Linked DNA regions of Homo sapiens: region 2 is linked to region 1. Evidence: promoter capture Hi-C in human tissues and cell types (Jung and others, 2019). All regions are on one chromosome and are shown on one strand. The core of a region is centred on a gene start or on the middle of the fragment in contact, and the rest is flanking DNA. Distances in the headings are between cores, read along the strand shown. Region 1 holds the start of OR4D6 (olfactory receptor family 4 subfamily D member 6). Region 2 has its middle 32 kb from the start of MPEG1.

Region 1 (7,695 bases), core at 3,013-5,512:
AATTGACCGAGTGGAACCGAGGCTTCAGCACTGGGTGAATGGGTTTGGGACTAAGGCTGTCACCAAATCAAAGAGAAATGACACCCAGTGAGCCATGGGCAAAGTATGCATATGGAGCTGACTTTGAAACCTTCACAGTTGTTAAGGGAATTTGAGGTTAAAGTCATGTTTTTTTTAAGGAAGCACCTATTTGGTAGAAAGAGCTTCATGATCCTCATGGGCAAACCCTAAACTGAAACAAAATCTGCTCCTTTCTTTTTCTTATTGTATTTTATTTTACTTTAATTTATTTTTTGGAGACAGAGTCTCATTCTGCTGCCCAGGCTGGGGTGCAGTGGCGTGATCTTTGCTCATTGCAACCTCTGCCTCCCGGGTTCAAGCAATTCTCGTGCCTCAGCCTCCTGAGTAGCTGGGACTGCAGGGGTGCGCCACCATGCTTGGCTAATTTTTTGTGTTTTTTGGTAGAGATGGGGTTTCACTATGTTGGCCAGGCTGGTCTTGAACTCTCAACTGAGTTCAGGCAATCTGCTCATCTCAGCTTCTCAAAGGATCACAGATGTGAGCCACTGCCTGGTCTATTTTTCTATCAAATACAAACTGCCTTCTCTTTTATTATGCTGACCCCATTGCTGTGGTTCCTTTCCATGAAGATATTACTTATTTCCCGGTGTTTAACATCCATTTTTTTTTGGTTTCCTGTTGCTAAAGTTTTCAACTATTTTTGCCATATCTTAGACACTTGACACATTTTTCATGCTCATCATATTCATGTATAATCCATAATATCTCACACTCTGACAGTTCAATATTCTTACCTAAATCCTTCAGTGTCCAACATGAATTTACACCATCTGAGACTGGGTAGCTGGGCCTCAGCATATATAATGGTGGGGAAATATGGTGCTTGAAGGCAAAGTCCTCCTGAAAATAAATTATACCAGATTTCAATGTCTTCTCTTCAGCCTTCATGTTGGAAAGGGCTGACTAAGAGAGTTACATCATTGTTGGCTCTTCTCTTTGGCTTAAAATGTCCTTGCTACGTGCACTAATGTCTCAGGCTCAGGCCTAATATGAGAATTAGCAAAGGAAATTTTATTGGATGTGAGTGTGGAAATAGAATGGGCATTCTTCTGGTAGTGTCAGAGTTCCAGAGGGAGTTATTAAACAGTTTCCAAGTTATTACTGCAAGCAAGTCCACACATATGCACACACACACACACATACATACACACAGACACGCACAAGGATGCCGTTTCTCTGCTTTCTAAATTCTTGCAAGGCCCCAGAACACATGGACATGAATCTACCTATTCTGTGATTCTCTGAGTTTTGGGGAAATATTGGTCTCTGGAAACATCTAATGTCATATAATCATTCATACTCAATGAGAGCCTGACATGCCCAAAGAGACAATTTGTTCTCAGGGGAGCAACAAAACTTATATATTACAATGATGTATGGCCTCAGTACACATAAATATATACAGTATATTTTTGGTATTGAATTTCCTCATAAGGGAGCAATTAGGAAAAATAGCGAATAAAGCTCCCTGAGGGGGCTAATAATTTTTTTTGTGTGTGTGGAAACAAGGTCTTGCAGTATTGTCCAAGCTGGTCTCCAACTCCTGGGTTCAAATGATCCTTTTGCCATGAGTAGCTGCGACTCTAGGCCCTTGGGGCTGCAGGGGGAGCTGATGCGGAGTCTTGGCTCAATATCTCTGTCTTGTAGGACTCAGGGAGGATCATGGATGTATGTCAACTACTAGGATCTTCTTGGCCAAATATTAATGCGTTATAACAGTTTGGTACCTCGCAAAACTTTTTTCAATGTGTTGCAATTTCTTGAGCTTCCTTACTTCTCTTGGATAATTTTTGAATGACTGTTGAAGGCTGAAGGGTGGATTTGAGGTGAGTATAGAGGAAGAAGGAGGATTCATTGTCTTTAGATATCTACTCTCTTGGAATCCTTCCCTTGAGAGAGAGGTGGATTCTAACACAGACCCAGTGGCTATTCCCAAATGACCCCGAATACAATGTGTTTCTTTTCTCTCCTGGAACAAAAAGTGGGCCATGAAGGCATAAAGTGTATTTATTAGACAGGTTTTGTTTTCTTGAACCACCATGATTTGTCTTGAATTGTCTACCCATACATAAACAAAAACTACGGTTTTATTCCAGTCATAAAAGCCCTGAGGGTGAAATGTAAGGAGGGTATAAAGAAGAAAAGGAAGTTCAGGTTAACATAAAAAAAATTGTCTCTGCGCATGTATGTACCAAAACTATACAAGCATCTTTTTAATTTCAGCTGGTAAATCAGTAGACTAGACCTGAGAACAGGAAATACTTGGTCCATGTATAAATTTGTCCATGTACATATTTGACTTACAGTTTAAAATATTCCTTCCATTTTCACTAATTGGTGAAATATACTTAAGATTCTGTACTTAAAATATAAAATCAAGGCCAGGCGCAGTGGCTCACGCCTGTAATCCCAGCACTTTGGGAGGCCGAGGCGGGTGGATCACGAGGTCAGGAGATTGAGACCATCCTGGCTAAAATGGTGAAACTCCATCCCTACTAAAAATACAAAAAATTAGCCGGGCGTCATGGCGGGCGCCTGTAGTCCCAGCTACTCAGGAGGCTGAGGCAGGAGAATGGCGTGAACCCAGGAGGTGGAGTTTGCAGTGAGCCAAGATCGCGCCACTGCACTCCAGCCTGGGCAACAGAGCAAGACTCCGTCCCAAAAAAATAAAATAAAATAAAATAAAATAAAATAAAATAAAATCAAGTGATTTCAATAATTGACTGGATATAGCAGAGTCACCAGAGAAAGCATATATGAAATAAATGTGTCTATATTCTGTGTATATGCACATTTAGGAAGAGAGGGGTAGGTAATAGGGAATGTTGATTGAATACCTGATTAATGCCAGGAGCAGTACTAACCTTCACAACTATCATCCTCACAGCATTGATCACATTTCATTCTTTTGACAAACTTGTGAGCAAGTAATGATATTTCCATATTACTGGTGCTAAAAGTGAGATAAGTGTTGGTATGAGTCACAGGTAACACCAAAAAGCATTTAGGGTATTGATTTCAACCTTATACCCTCTTCTTCTCCTGAGTCCACAAGCTCGATAGCTCACATTGTTTAATCTCATTTCTTCTTTTTGTTTGTATACTCCCGCTAATAGAATCGAGCGGCTATGAAGATATACAATGAAGTAGTGGAAGAAGAGCTAGCGACCTGTTACTCTTAGGCTAGCATTTTGAGAAAACTAAGTCAGACAGACTTCCACTCTCCATCTGACTGCTCACCCCCATTTTCTGCTCTCGGAAGGCCCAAGTCTCCTCTGCAGCCTCTGCATGGCTGACTTCATCTCTTGATTTCTCAGGGAATAGATGATGGGGTTCAGCATGGGGGTAATGACCGTGTTATTAATGGATATGGTTGTGTCCATGGGCAGCGTCATGAAGGGCCGGCAGTAGATGTAAACACAAGGCACGAAGTGAAGAGTCACCACCAGCATGTGGGACGTGCACGTGGAGAGGGCCTTGTTCCGCCCCTCCCCAGAGTGGGATCTCAGCATCACCAGAATGACAGTGTAGGAGCCCAGGAGCAGGAGGAACCAGAGCAGGGTCACCAGTCCGTTGTTAGAGATCATGAAAAGCTCCAAAGCAAAGGTGTCAGTGCAGGCCAGTTTTACCACCTGGAGCACATAACAGTAGAAGGCATCCAGTGTGTTGGGGCCACAGAAGGGGAATGGAAGCATCAGAATTACCTGGATGATTGAATGCAAACCACCACTCACCCAAGAAGCCACCACCAAGGCCACCCACACCTCTTTCCTCATCATGGTCACATAGTGCAGGGGCTTGGCGATTGCAAGGTATCTGTCATAGGCCATCACAGAGAGGAAAAAAATATCTGCCCCACCAGCAAAGTGGAAGAAAAAGATCTGTGCCATGCAGTCATTGTAGGAGATGGTTTTCCTGTCTGATAAAAGATCCACCAGGAACTTGGGGACGGTGATAGATGAAAAAACGATGTCCAGGACTGATTTGTTCCGCAGGAGAAAGTACATAGGAGTGTGTAGGCGGGACTCACAGGTAATAGTGACCACAATGAGTGCATTTCCCAGGACTGTTGCTACATACACAGCAAAGAAGACCACAAACAAGAAAAACTCCAGCTCTCGGGAACGTGTAAGTTCCAGGAAGAAAAACTCCTTCACATTAGTGTGGTTGATCTGGTCCATGATGGGGATGACTCTCTTCCAGGTCCTACCTTTGATGAAGATATGTTAGAACTTGGATTATGGTGACATGAGGTGGCAAAATCATTGATCACATACTGCTCTCAAGCATCCAGGTCATCATGACTACACAGAAAAACTGGGCCAGTCTTCTCTTTGTGGTCTGGAAATTCTTCTTTCATATGGTTCTTCTTTCTTATTGTAAATACCTTGGGTTAACAGGAAAAAACCATCACATGTCTGTATCCTCACTCTGACCAGAGAGAGATGGATGGACTATGGCCATTTGCCTATGCTTTACCAAGGGCTTTCACCTGCAATAGCTCATACTGATTTCAATTCTCATGAAGTTTCTGAAGAGTCTTTAGTATGGTTATCTCCATTTTATATACGGGGAAACTGAAGCTTTACAGCAGTTAATGACTTACATCTGCATAGTCGCAAAATTAGTGAATTGTAAATTGAGGATTCAAATACAAATCAATCTCCTGACTTGAGAAAGATTCCCTCCTTGACCAAATGTTGGTTAGGCTCCTCTGAGCCCTTTTCTTGACTATGACTCAACCTTGACCTTCTGTGTCTGTCTTTGCTGAGCCCAATTTTAACAGGAATCTTGCCAAGTCAGTTTAATGAGAATTCCACACCCTTGAAATCTAATCAAATTCCTCACCCCTTACCCTTTTATATATTTATTATTTTTAACCTCATCCCTCACCCTCAATATCTAAGTCCTTGGCCAGTCTTTAGCAAGAATTCTTTTATGCCAGTTTAGCAAGAACCACCCTACCTTTGATATCACTTCTTAGTAATTTTCAATCCACTGACCTCCCTCACTCTGCTCATTGCTTATAAATCTTCACTTGTTTTCACTATATTTCGAGTTGAGCTCAATCTTTTTCTTCTATTGCAAGAGTTTTAAATGAAATCTATCTTCCTGTCTTTAATAATTGTCTGGTGAATAATTTTTCTTTAACATAACAGTCTCCAGAGGTTTTTCCACTGTACAACTCTGAGAAATCAGAGAGTCTGGGGCTTACTTTGGCTTACCGGAATTCTAGTGTGTATATAAGGCTTAAACAGTTTATTAAGTAGTTTGACTACCTAATCCTTATCTCATCCCTTATAAAAAGAGAAGGGTCAGGCCCTCATAAGTACTCCTCTTTGGCACTCTGGGAAGCCTGGACCTTGCTATTGACACACAGGGCTCTTTGTATAGAGCCACAGTCATTGTTCAGGGCATGTTTTAGTATCACAGAAAAACTGATCATTAGAGCGTCACAGGACTTCAGAGATAAATTAGTCTAATGTTTCTTACTTTAGAAGTGACTAGAGAAGGACATTTATTTTTTTCAGAATCAGAGTTTGAATTGGTGAAATATAGAGAACTGTAAACAGGTTTGTTGACTCAAATTCCAGGGATATTCTACTATTGCTATATAATAGCAATTTACTATATTGATACTTCTTTTTCCCAAATCAGAAATTCAGTCATATGAGGACAAACTTCTTTCAGTAAGAATATCTGTATGAACCAGGTGCAGTGGCTAATGCCTGTAATCCCAGCACTTTGGGAGGTCAAGGCAGGCAGATTGCTTGAGTTCAGGAGTTTGAGACCAGCCAGGACAATAGTGAGACCCTGTCTTAACAACAACAACAAATTAAAAAAAAATTAGCCAGGCATGGTGGTGTGCACCTGCAGTCCCAGCTACTCAGGAGGCTGAAGTGGGGGGATCGCTTGAGCCCAGGAATTCGAGGCTGCAGTGAGCTATGATTGTGCCATTGTACTGCAGCCTGGGTGACAGAGCAAGTCCCTGTCTCTACAAAACAACAACCCCGCCCCCAAACCATTTGATACAGCAGGCATGTGAAACAAAAGAATATCTGTATGTTCCAAGGACTCATATTCTAGATGATTTTAAAAAATTTAAGGGGCCGGGTGCGGTGGTTCACGCCTGTAATCCCAGCACTTTGGGAGGACGAGGCAGGCAGATCACGAGGTCAGGAGATCGAGACCATCCTGACTAACATGGTGAAACCCCATCTCTACTAAAAATACAAAAAATTAGCCAGGTGTGGTGGTGGGCGCCTGTAGTCCCAGCTACTCGGGAGGCTGAGGCAGGAGAATGGCATGAACCCAGGAGGCAAAGTGTGCAGTGAGCCAAGATTGCGCCACTGAACTCCAGCCTGGGCGACGGAGTGATACTCTGCCTCAAAAAAAAAAAAAAAATTTAAATAATTGAGATGACCAAAATCTAATTCAACAATAAAAAGTAGGCAATTGGCATTGGAAAAAAACATAATTATGTCTGAGAAAGATAGGAAAAGAAAGAAGACAGTATACCAGATGAAAAAAGGATACAGCATTTTCCCTGAAATAAAAGCAAAAGAAAGTATTCCATAAGAAACATAGTTCTTAATTTTTCTCATTTCAGTTCTCTTACAGTTGAGTGTATTTTATAGTTTAGTTTGAGGGGTTAGAACATACAGAATTCCTCTTAAACAAAAATCTTGTGATCTTCTTAGATCCCTGATGTTTCCACCATTAGAATAATTTCATTCCTGTGGAAGTGAGTTGCCTCTTTTATTTTTATTTATTTATTTTTAATTAAAAAACTTTTTACAGTCTTTTAAAAATTGCACATATTTAAGGTATACAGCCCAAAAGAAATCTTACTTTAATATGCCAGCATCCAGTAACACACTAACTGGTACAATGTATTTGGAATTATGTTATTGCCTTTTATTAGAGTGTCTACAAGGAGAAGCATCCATCTTTGGATTGTACTCAGGCCAAGATCTATTTGGTTCTTCCCAGGAGACTCCAAAGAAGACAGTTATCCTAGACCCAAGTGCAAGGCAGAGCTCCCGTGGGACATCAATGTGCGTTCTTTTTTGAGGCAATAAGAATTGTGTAACTGACTGCGTATCTTTGTGTGTGTGTGTGTGTGTGTGTGTGTGTTTAAGACAGAGTCTTGCTCTGTTGCCCAGGCTGGAGTGCAGTGGTGCGATCTTGGCTGACTGCAACCTCCGCCTCCCAGTTCAAGCAATTCTCCTGCTTCATCCTCCCAAGTAGCTGGGATTGCAGGCACGCGCCACCATGCCTGGCTAATTTCTGTATTTTTAATAGAGACAGGGTTTTGCAATGTTGGCCAGGCTGGTCCGGAACTCCTGACCTCAGGTGATCTACCCACTTCAGCCTCCCAAAGTGCTGGGATTACAGGCGTGAGCCACCGCGCCAGGCCCTGACTATGTATCTTTGCTTTGGCTTTCATACATTCAAAAACGTATGAGTGACTTAATTTTCTACTCCATAATTTTTCACATGTAGCCTCTTAACAGTTCCTTATTTACATTCTATTGTTTTACTGTAGGTAGTTCTTTGTTATTGCTGCAAGATCTCCCTGATCCCTTGTGGAATGTGATGGGAAATACATTG
Region 2 (7,695 bases), core at 3,765-6,264, 210 kb after region 1:
CTCCCTTCCTTCTTGCCAAATCAATGGCCTTCTGTTTATATTTTCTCTCTTTGAGTTCCATGCCATGTTCATTAAGCATCACTGAGCAGTGACAGATTTGAGGATCAGGATAAGGAATTTGGATGTCATCAGGCCATCAGTGAACAAAAAAACTAATGAACGCTCTTGAGCAAAAAATGACATGATTGGATCTGTGCTTTAAGGAGGTCCATTTGCAGGTTAAGGAGGAAGAATTGAATTTGAGAGAGTCTGAAGGCGAATTATGAACAATCAGTTTAAAATTGCCTGAGTCCCCCCACAAAAAAATTCTTGGAGTTGGAGATGACATGAAAAGAGGGTTCTATTGATTCTACCGATAATGTTTCAAGTAGTATTAAAGAACAATCCATTCTGAAGGTGGGAGCAAGGGAGGCAGGAATTGTAAAGCACCATAGTCTTCTAGTTTACTATCCTCACACCCTTCAGTATGCAATAAGATATATAAAAAAAAAAAAGAGGATTCTTTAGGTTTAGGGTTTTTTTTTCCCTAAAAAAAGATTTAATTACAAACTACTGAATTGGCCATAGTAATCATTTCTCCAATATCTAGCCTCAGAGAGAGACCCCAAGAATGTAGGCATGATGCCCAGAGCTGGGAACTCGAGGAGGGAGTATAATTTGTTTAGCTTCACAGTAGGAGACTCTGGCCCTGGCAGAGGAGAAGCTGATGGGGTTTTGGGTGGAGAAGGGAAATTGTAACATTTTTCTCATCTGGATGCAAGTTGAAGAGCTGCCAACATCAACAGGGTGTGGCCACCATCTTTCACAAATCCTTGAAAGAAGCTGTGGTGTGCTGTGGGTTTACACAATGCCCACTTCCTTCTGTTTCTTGTATGTCCTCCCCAAGACACACAAATAGACTTCAAGTATTTTCAAGATGGATATTTGATAAATCAAAAACAAAACACGTACATGAGGGAAATCTGGCCTTAGTCAAACAGCAAGAGGTTATTTTTCTTTTAAACTCCCTGCCCACTGATCTTTTGAAAGATAAGTGTTATCAGGTGATTTTTTAAAAAAATTGCCATCCATTTCTCAGGTCCTTATAGGGGCAGTGGTGTATGGAGGAATGAGGATATTATGAAATAAAGTGTTACAAGAGGCCCTATGCACACAATAAAAAATGTTAGTACATGTCAATCTCCTTTCTTCTTTCTTTTTGTTTCACAGAATCAGAATCTCAGGATTTTAAGGAACCCATAAGGTTAACTAATTCAGATTGTCTTTTAAATCTTAAATCCTGTCACTGTCAAGTGTACCATCTTCTGCTTACACACGTCCAGTGATGAGAAATTTAAAGCTTTCTGGGCTATCCATTCTACTTTTGAACTATACTATTGTTTTCCTAAAATTCTCTCTCTCTCTCTCTCTGTCTATCTTTGTCAGAAGGGTTCTGTAAAATATCTAGTGCTTTACAAAGGTAACTGCTATTGTCTGAAATTGTCACATATTTTGGAGCCAAAAACCAGTCTCAGATTGCATTGACTCCAGGGATATATTATTGGAACCACACCAGGAACTAGGAATAACATGGAAGCTGAGCCAATGGAAATCAACTGTACCCAAACAAAGCTGGCATTTTCTTTATCCCTGAGCACAGGTAGCTACCCAAGATGCCCAGAGGTGCTCTCTGGGACATGCTGTACCCCACAACCTAAACAGAACCAGTGGTAACTGGGAGAGAACTGGCGTCTCTTTCAACCCCCACCAAGTCCTTCTCTTGGAGTTGGTAGCCAATTTAACATAGCTGCATCCAAATACTTTTTATCTCTTTGTCCAAAACATGTACTATGGGTGCTGGCAGAGATGGGTTTCATTCTTTTTCCAAGCATCTGATCTTAGCCATCTAACTGAAATGTAGAGCGTAAGGAGCTGTAAATGAGTCTGCCCCTTTTCTTTCCTTGGAATCATTACTGCTGAATCATAGAGTCACAGAATGGGAGAGTGAGAAACACTCATGAAGGTGGGGAAGTTGGAGCAGGCAAGATGCTGGGACCTTCTCTCCTACTCCTCTGACTTTGACCAGAAAGCTGGACTTTATCTATTTAATATTCTGAAATTCTGCAGAAAAAAATTTGTTTTTGCATTTCTTCTATTTACAAACGGAAGTAAGGAATAAAGGAATGTGGACTAGAAAATACTGATCTAACCTAATACTTTTATTGTCCATACAAGAGATGAGGAGATTAAGATTCAGAGAAGGAAATAATTTTTCCAACAGTCACATTACAAAGAAGCAGGAGAAATAGAACTTGAACAAGCATTTTTTTTTTCATTTAACTTTCAGGCTAGTTTTTTTTTTTTATTCTAGAGTCATGGGTATATGCAAGTGTGTATCTGCAATTTTTGAAAAACCATCTAGTTTACTTGGGGTCTTCTTTAGCTACCTTTGAGACTCTAGGTTTTAGAATAAGGTAAAGCAGAAAGAGCTTCTCTTGAAGATATAAAATATAGATGCTACTTTTTATATCTGGTACCAATAAATGGTACAGATCTTTACTTCATGTCTTTTTGCTTTAGTTTTATTACCTATGATGGGAAAGGCTAGGCTTGCTGGTTTCTAGCTCTGATATTACATTATTTTAGTGTTTTAGATCTATCCCAGAATTTTCTGGACGTCTATGCAATATTTAAAATAAGGAAGGCCCAGTGGTTTTAGGATTAGGACAAGTTTACAGTATCTACATAGTAATGATTTGATAACCCTTTATTTAAGCAGTGAACAAACTATTCATTGGACACACGTAATGTGCTAGGCACTGTAACAGAGGAGGGGACAGAAATGATCAAGGTAGACAGCACATTTCTTTTCCTCATGTCAGTCTTTCTATATTTTCTTCATCATACCCTAGAAAATCATCTGAACCATAAATGCCCACCACACTTCAAATATAGTGTTCATCTGGGAATTACCGCATTAGAACTTCATTCCTCTTTATCTTGCTATGCGGCTCAACCCTGCTAAAATGTAAATAGCCCTGCTGAGGTTGAGGACAAGAGAACTCTCCACAATCATTTTTGGAATTCAGATTCCACAGAACCAGCCTTGTCTAGTCACTTGGAATGGGAGAAAGATCATATATATTGCAGGTATATCTTTTCTTTTCTTTTTTTTTGAGATGAAGTCTCACTGTGTCTCCCAGGCTGGAGTGCAGTGGCACAATCTCGGCTCACTGCAACCTCCCCCTCCTGAGTTCAAGAGATTCTCCTGCCTCAGCCTCCTGAGTAGCTGGGATTACAGTGCCCAACACCACACCTGATTAATTTTTACATATTCTTTTAGTAGAGATGGGGTTTCACCATGTTGGCCAGGCTGGTCTCAAATTCCTGACCTCAAGCGATCTGCACTCCTCAGCCTCCCAAAATGCTGGGATTACAGGCATCAGCCACCATGCTCGGCCATTGCAGTTATATCAATAACATAGTCCTATTGTAACCAGTGGAGGGTGTCCAGGTTCTTAGCATTTTGAACAAAGAATTAGACAAAATGCATAAACAAAGCAATAAAAGAAAATTACAGATTGTTGAAATGAAAGTACACTCCACAGAGTGGGAGCTGGTTAAAGTAAGTGGCTCAAGAGCGATGGTTACAGAATTTTCTGGGATTTAAATACCCTCTAGAGGTTTCCCATTGGTTACTTGGTTTATACCCTATGTAAGTGAAGAGGATGAAGTGAAATTACAAAGTTATTGATTTGGTGTATACCCTATGCAAAAGAAGAGGATGTTTCCTGACATAGCTGAAGTCAAGTTACAAAGTTATTGACTTGGATATAGAAAGTTGGGGTTTCTATTTGATTTAGTTCTAGGAAGTCCTTAGATTCCCTGACTCCAGACCCTATTCTCCTGCCTCATTTCCCCCCTGAGAGACATGATCCCCATAAACCTTTATGGGAGGCAGAGGAACCAAGGGTCTTTCTTCTGTAACTGCTTCATGCTGACTTCGGGAGCAGTCCCTACATATTGGGGATCACAGTACTCTCATCCTGCTCTGTCTGGTGGGGACAGGGTAGCTTCTTGATGGCTGGTGGTGTCTTCACCTGGAACTGTGTGGAAACCTTCTCACATGATCATCTAAAGCTTAATGGTCTCTAGGCGAGAGGAAAAGAATTTGCTTAAAATATTTAACAAACGGCCGGGCGCGATGGCTTATGTCTGTAATCCCAGCACTTTGGGAGGCCGAGGCGGGCAGATCACGAGGTCAGGAGATCAAGACCATCCTGGCTAACATGGTGAAACCCCGTCTCTACTAAAAATACAATAAATTGGCCAGGCGTGGTGGCAGGTGCCTGTAGTCCCAGCTACTCGGGAGGCTGAGGCAGGAGAATGGCATGAACCCAGGAGGCAGTTAGAAGATCTAGTCTCCTTCTATTTTGCAAAGCAATCACTGCCAAGGGGTTTATTTGTTTTCATAATGTTACAATACTCTGGGCAATGTCATTCAAGCTTTCCATAAAACCCTTGGACAACCATTGGTAGTAGGATAGGGAAGTTGCAATCCCGCTAACTTCCAATCCTACTCCTGCTGTTATTAGTAGCCCTACAAAAAGGGGTATGAGTTGGATGGCTCATTTGTATCTGGTGGTTGCAGTTAAAGGTATAATAAGGAGTTGGTTGTTGGGAGCTATATTAATTTTGAGACATATAATAGTTCTGTCTCCAGTCCACCAGTTCCACCAAAGACAAATCACAGCAGAACCAATCTACCTGCAAAATAAGCTTCAGTCCCATATACTTGTCCTGATTACCCAGACAAAGTGCAACAAGAATCGTTGTGCATATAGTCTCTTCTAAACTGGCTTTCTTGGAACATCTCACAAGACCATGTCAGTCAAAGCCCTGAGAAAATAACCAGTTCCTTCAACTGTGTTACATTACAAAAGAAAACATGTGGTTATTTACTCTATGCAAACAAACCCATTGCCATGAATTAATGATATTCACAAATAGTTTACAAATTCTGGAGAAATTAGTCAGAGAGAGGGAAATGACTCAAATTCTGTTTAAAAAAGCATACTCAATACACTTAAAGTATATTTCAAGGCTATAAATAACTCAAAAGAAAAAGATTCTCCAGACTTTAGACACAAAACAAAAAGAATTGCAATATTTGGAACAACAAAAGCCATAAAAATAATTTCTGTCTTTCATTAGTTCAGTCCATGCAATCAACTCCTACTCTACTTCATGTTAGGTTAGCAATCTTTATGAACACACAGCCTTTCAATTGGTACCCTGGAAGTTTTCTCTCTAATTCAACGACACAATCTCCAAAGTTATCAGAAACTTGTATTCAAGAGTCCTTTCATGATTTCCTCCAGAGAAGCAAGCATTGGACTGCTTATTATAAGTCACATTTATTGAGAAGGATCAAAGCAAAACATCAATGATGGATGACAAAAGTCTTAAGACAGCCACAGATAAAAGACATAGTTGACAAGGAAATGTGGTATACAACAATATATGATTATTTTTTATTGTTACTGACAACCTATATTAAGACATATCAGAATTTTAGGAATCTCATATAATCCTGGAACACATATTAATAATACATCTATATAAATATAACTCAAAGGAAATGAAATACATCTCAGATTTGATAATGCTTCCTGTATAATTCTAACATTACAAATAAGTCTAATAAGCCCAACATGTCTCTCTTGAACTTCAGGAAACTTAAGATCCAAAAAATTTGAGGTCAAAAGACTGAATTTAAAACTCGAAAATTTGCTGTTGGAAAGTCTGTCAGATTTCAAAGGTCTCACTGACACTCAATATCACAAAACAAGATCACAAGTTACTATAAAATTGCCATTCAGATAGCCAAAATTATAATACAAAAACATTTACTCTTCCATAGAAAGGAAACACAGTTTCCCAAACAGTAAGACCTAATACTTAAGACAGCATGAGGCCAACTAAATCTGTCTCTTTCCCCTCCATTTTCTCCCTGCAGTTCACTCAAGAGGTAAACAAAATCTTTTATCTCTTAATATTTGAACAAACACTTTGTTCAAAAGTGAAAACCAAGATTTTACCTTTGTGTGGTGCATTACTAATGTTAAAACTAATTTTAATAAAACCTTATAAACAAATCTAATTTTAATCAGTTTGACCATAAGGCAAGATTTCCATAATTTTTTATCACCTTTTTCAATTTTCTATTAAACATCAGATCAATGCTCCAAGAAAGCCCTGTTATTGTAACACATGGGCCCAGATTCTGGTCTTTCATTAGTGTCCTTTTTATATTAATGTTTAATTATAGAAAATCTTTGAACTAATCTAGTCCATCAGATGGGCCCTTACAATCTCACAGGCCCACCTCTTCCATGATAGTCCTGGGGCCTAGAGGGATTGAATAGTTTAATTTCTAGTCTTGTGTTTCACAAAAGCAGTTCATTTTGATGGCGCTCTTCTCCTGAGTCTGATGATGATGCTTCAACTGGTGTTAATGTTCATAATTTAGCAGGGGTTATTGCCTTTTTCCAACCCAGGAGTCAAAGCCCTGTAACTTACCAGCACAAGCAGTAGTTAATAAGATATTTGTACTACAGAAAGTCTGATTATTCTCTTTAACATGTTACAAATTAAAACACTGTGATTTGGTGTTTAGGAGTTACTGCCTGTGGTACTTCAAACCATTGTATTAAAGTAGGTTACTCATTGCATATATCTAATTGCTAGCATTCTAGTGACAGAACTGTGACCAAAAACATCAAAAGTGTCATAGGTCCTATGCCAAACATATCAAAGTAAGACAACTAACTTTTCTCTCCATCATTAAAAGATGGTAAATGCAAATACTAGTATAAGGATAAAAAATCTCCTTTCACTTAAATGCTATACAACCAAACAAGAATGAAGTGAAAACAAACACAAAATAATTTCTTTTCAGCTATTTTAAAAGGGCATTATCACATATTTCCAAGATTGGCTTCTAGATAGAGCACTGACATCTAATTAGCTAACTTTCACCACCCAAATCTTCAAACCAGTCTAACACTTGCATATGTTTTGTTTTCAAGCACACACATCAAGGCCCATCAGTAGTAAATGGCTTGGGATAAAAAAAAATCACTAGGAAGTCTCATATTTTTATTGCTACTTAGTCCAATTGAGTGTCACTTAATTTTAATAATGGTGAATACAACTAGATTAGTTTGAGAGAAATCCCAATCAATATAATTTCTCTAATGACAAGGCCAATCTTTTTTGAATATTAAAACTTTGTAGCCATATCATAGTATTTCTTCATTACCTAAAGGGAAAGATGTGAAACCTACTCAAATTATTAATTGAATTGAATTACCTTGGAAATAAACATCATTTAAACATTTTTATTCTCACCTACTTTTTCAAATAATAAATAATGTACAATTTCTGTTCAGAACTTATTTAAAAATCTTTTATGTAATTTTCTTTTGCCAGGAGCATTAAAGCTCTCATAGCTCTCTAGATCATCAGAGGCCAGTAAAACCAAGTAAATTCTAAATGGCTGTTGTGCTCTGTCAATTCCTACAGGCCCAACAAATATAGCCTAGGAATTCCAGATAAAGAGAACAATTGATGACTTGCGAGAAATGCACAGGAAACAAAATAACTGTTCACAGAACAAAATAAAAACCTTCCCCCAGAAACTAAAAAAAAGCC

Evidence for each region. The method cuts DNA at HindIII sites, captures the fragments that hold promoters and counts their contacts. A contact is called where the count stands out against the background at its distance.
Region 2: a fragment that was not itself captured here is called in contact with the fragment with the promoter of OR4D6 in region 1 in 2 of the 25 tissues and cell types used here (mesendoderm cells and neural progenitor cells).

The regions. Positions count from the first base shown.
Region 1 is chr11:59,453,528-59,461,222 of GRCh38, reverse strand. OR4D6 (olfactory receptor family 4 subfamily D member 6) reads right to left here and starts at 4,262. Exons shown (of 1, transcript NM_001004708.1): 1 at 3,318-4,262. The coding sequence starts at 4,262. The coding sequence ends at 3,318. The HindIII fragment of the contact is 13,894 bases long and covers 1-7,197 here.
Region 2 is chr11:59,241,118-59,248,812 of GRCh38, reverse strand. No RefSeq gene overlaps it. Among named protein-coding and RNA genes, the nearest start is that of MPEG1, 32 kb to the right of the region's middle. The HindIII fragment of the contact is 4,570 bases long and covers 2,730-7,299 here.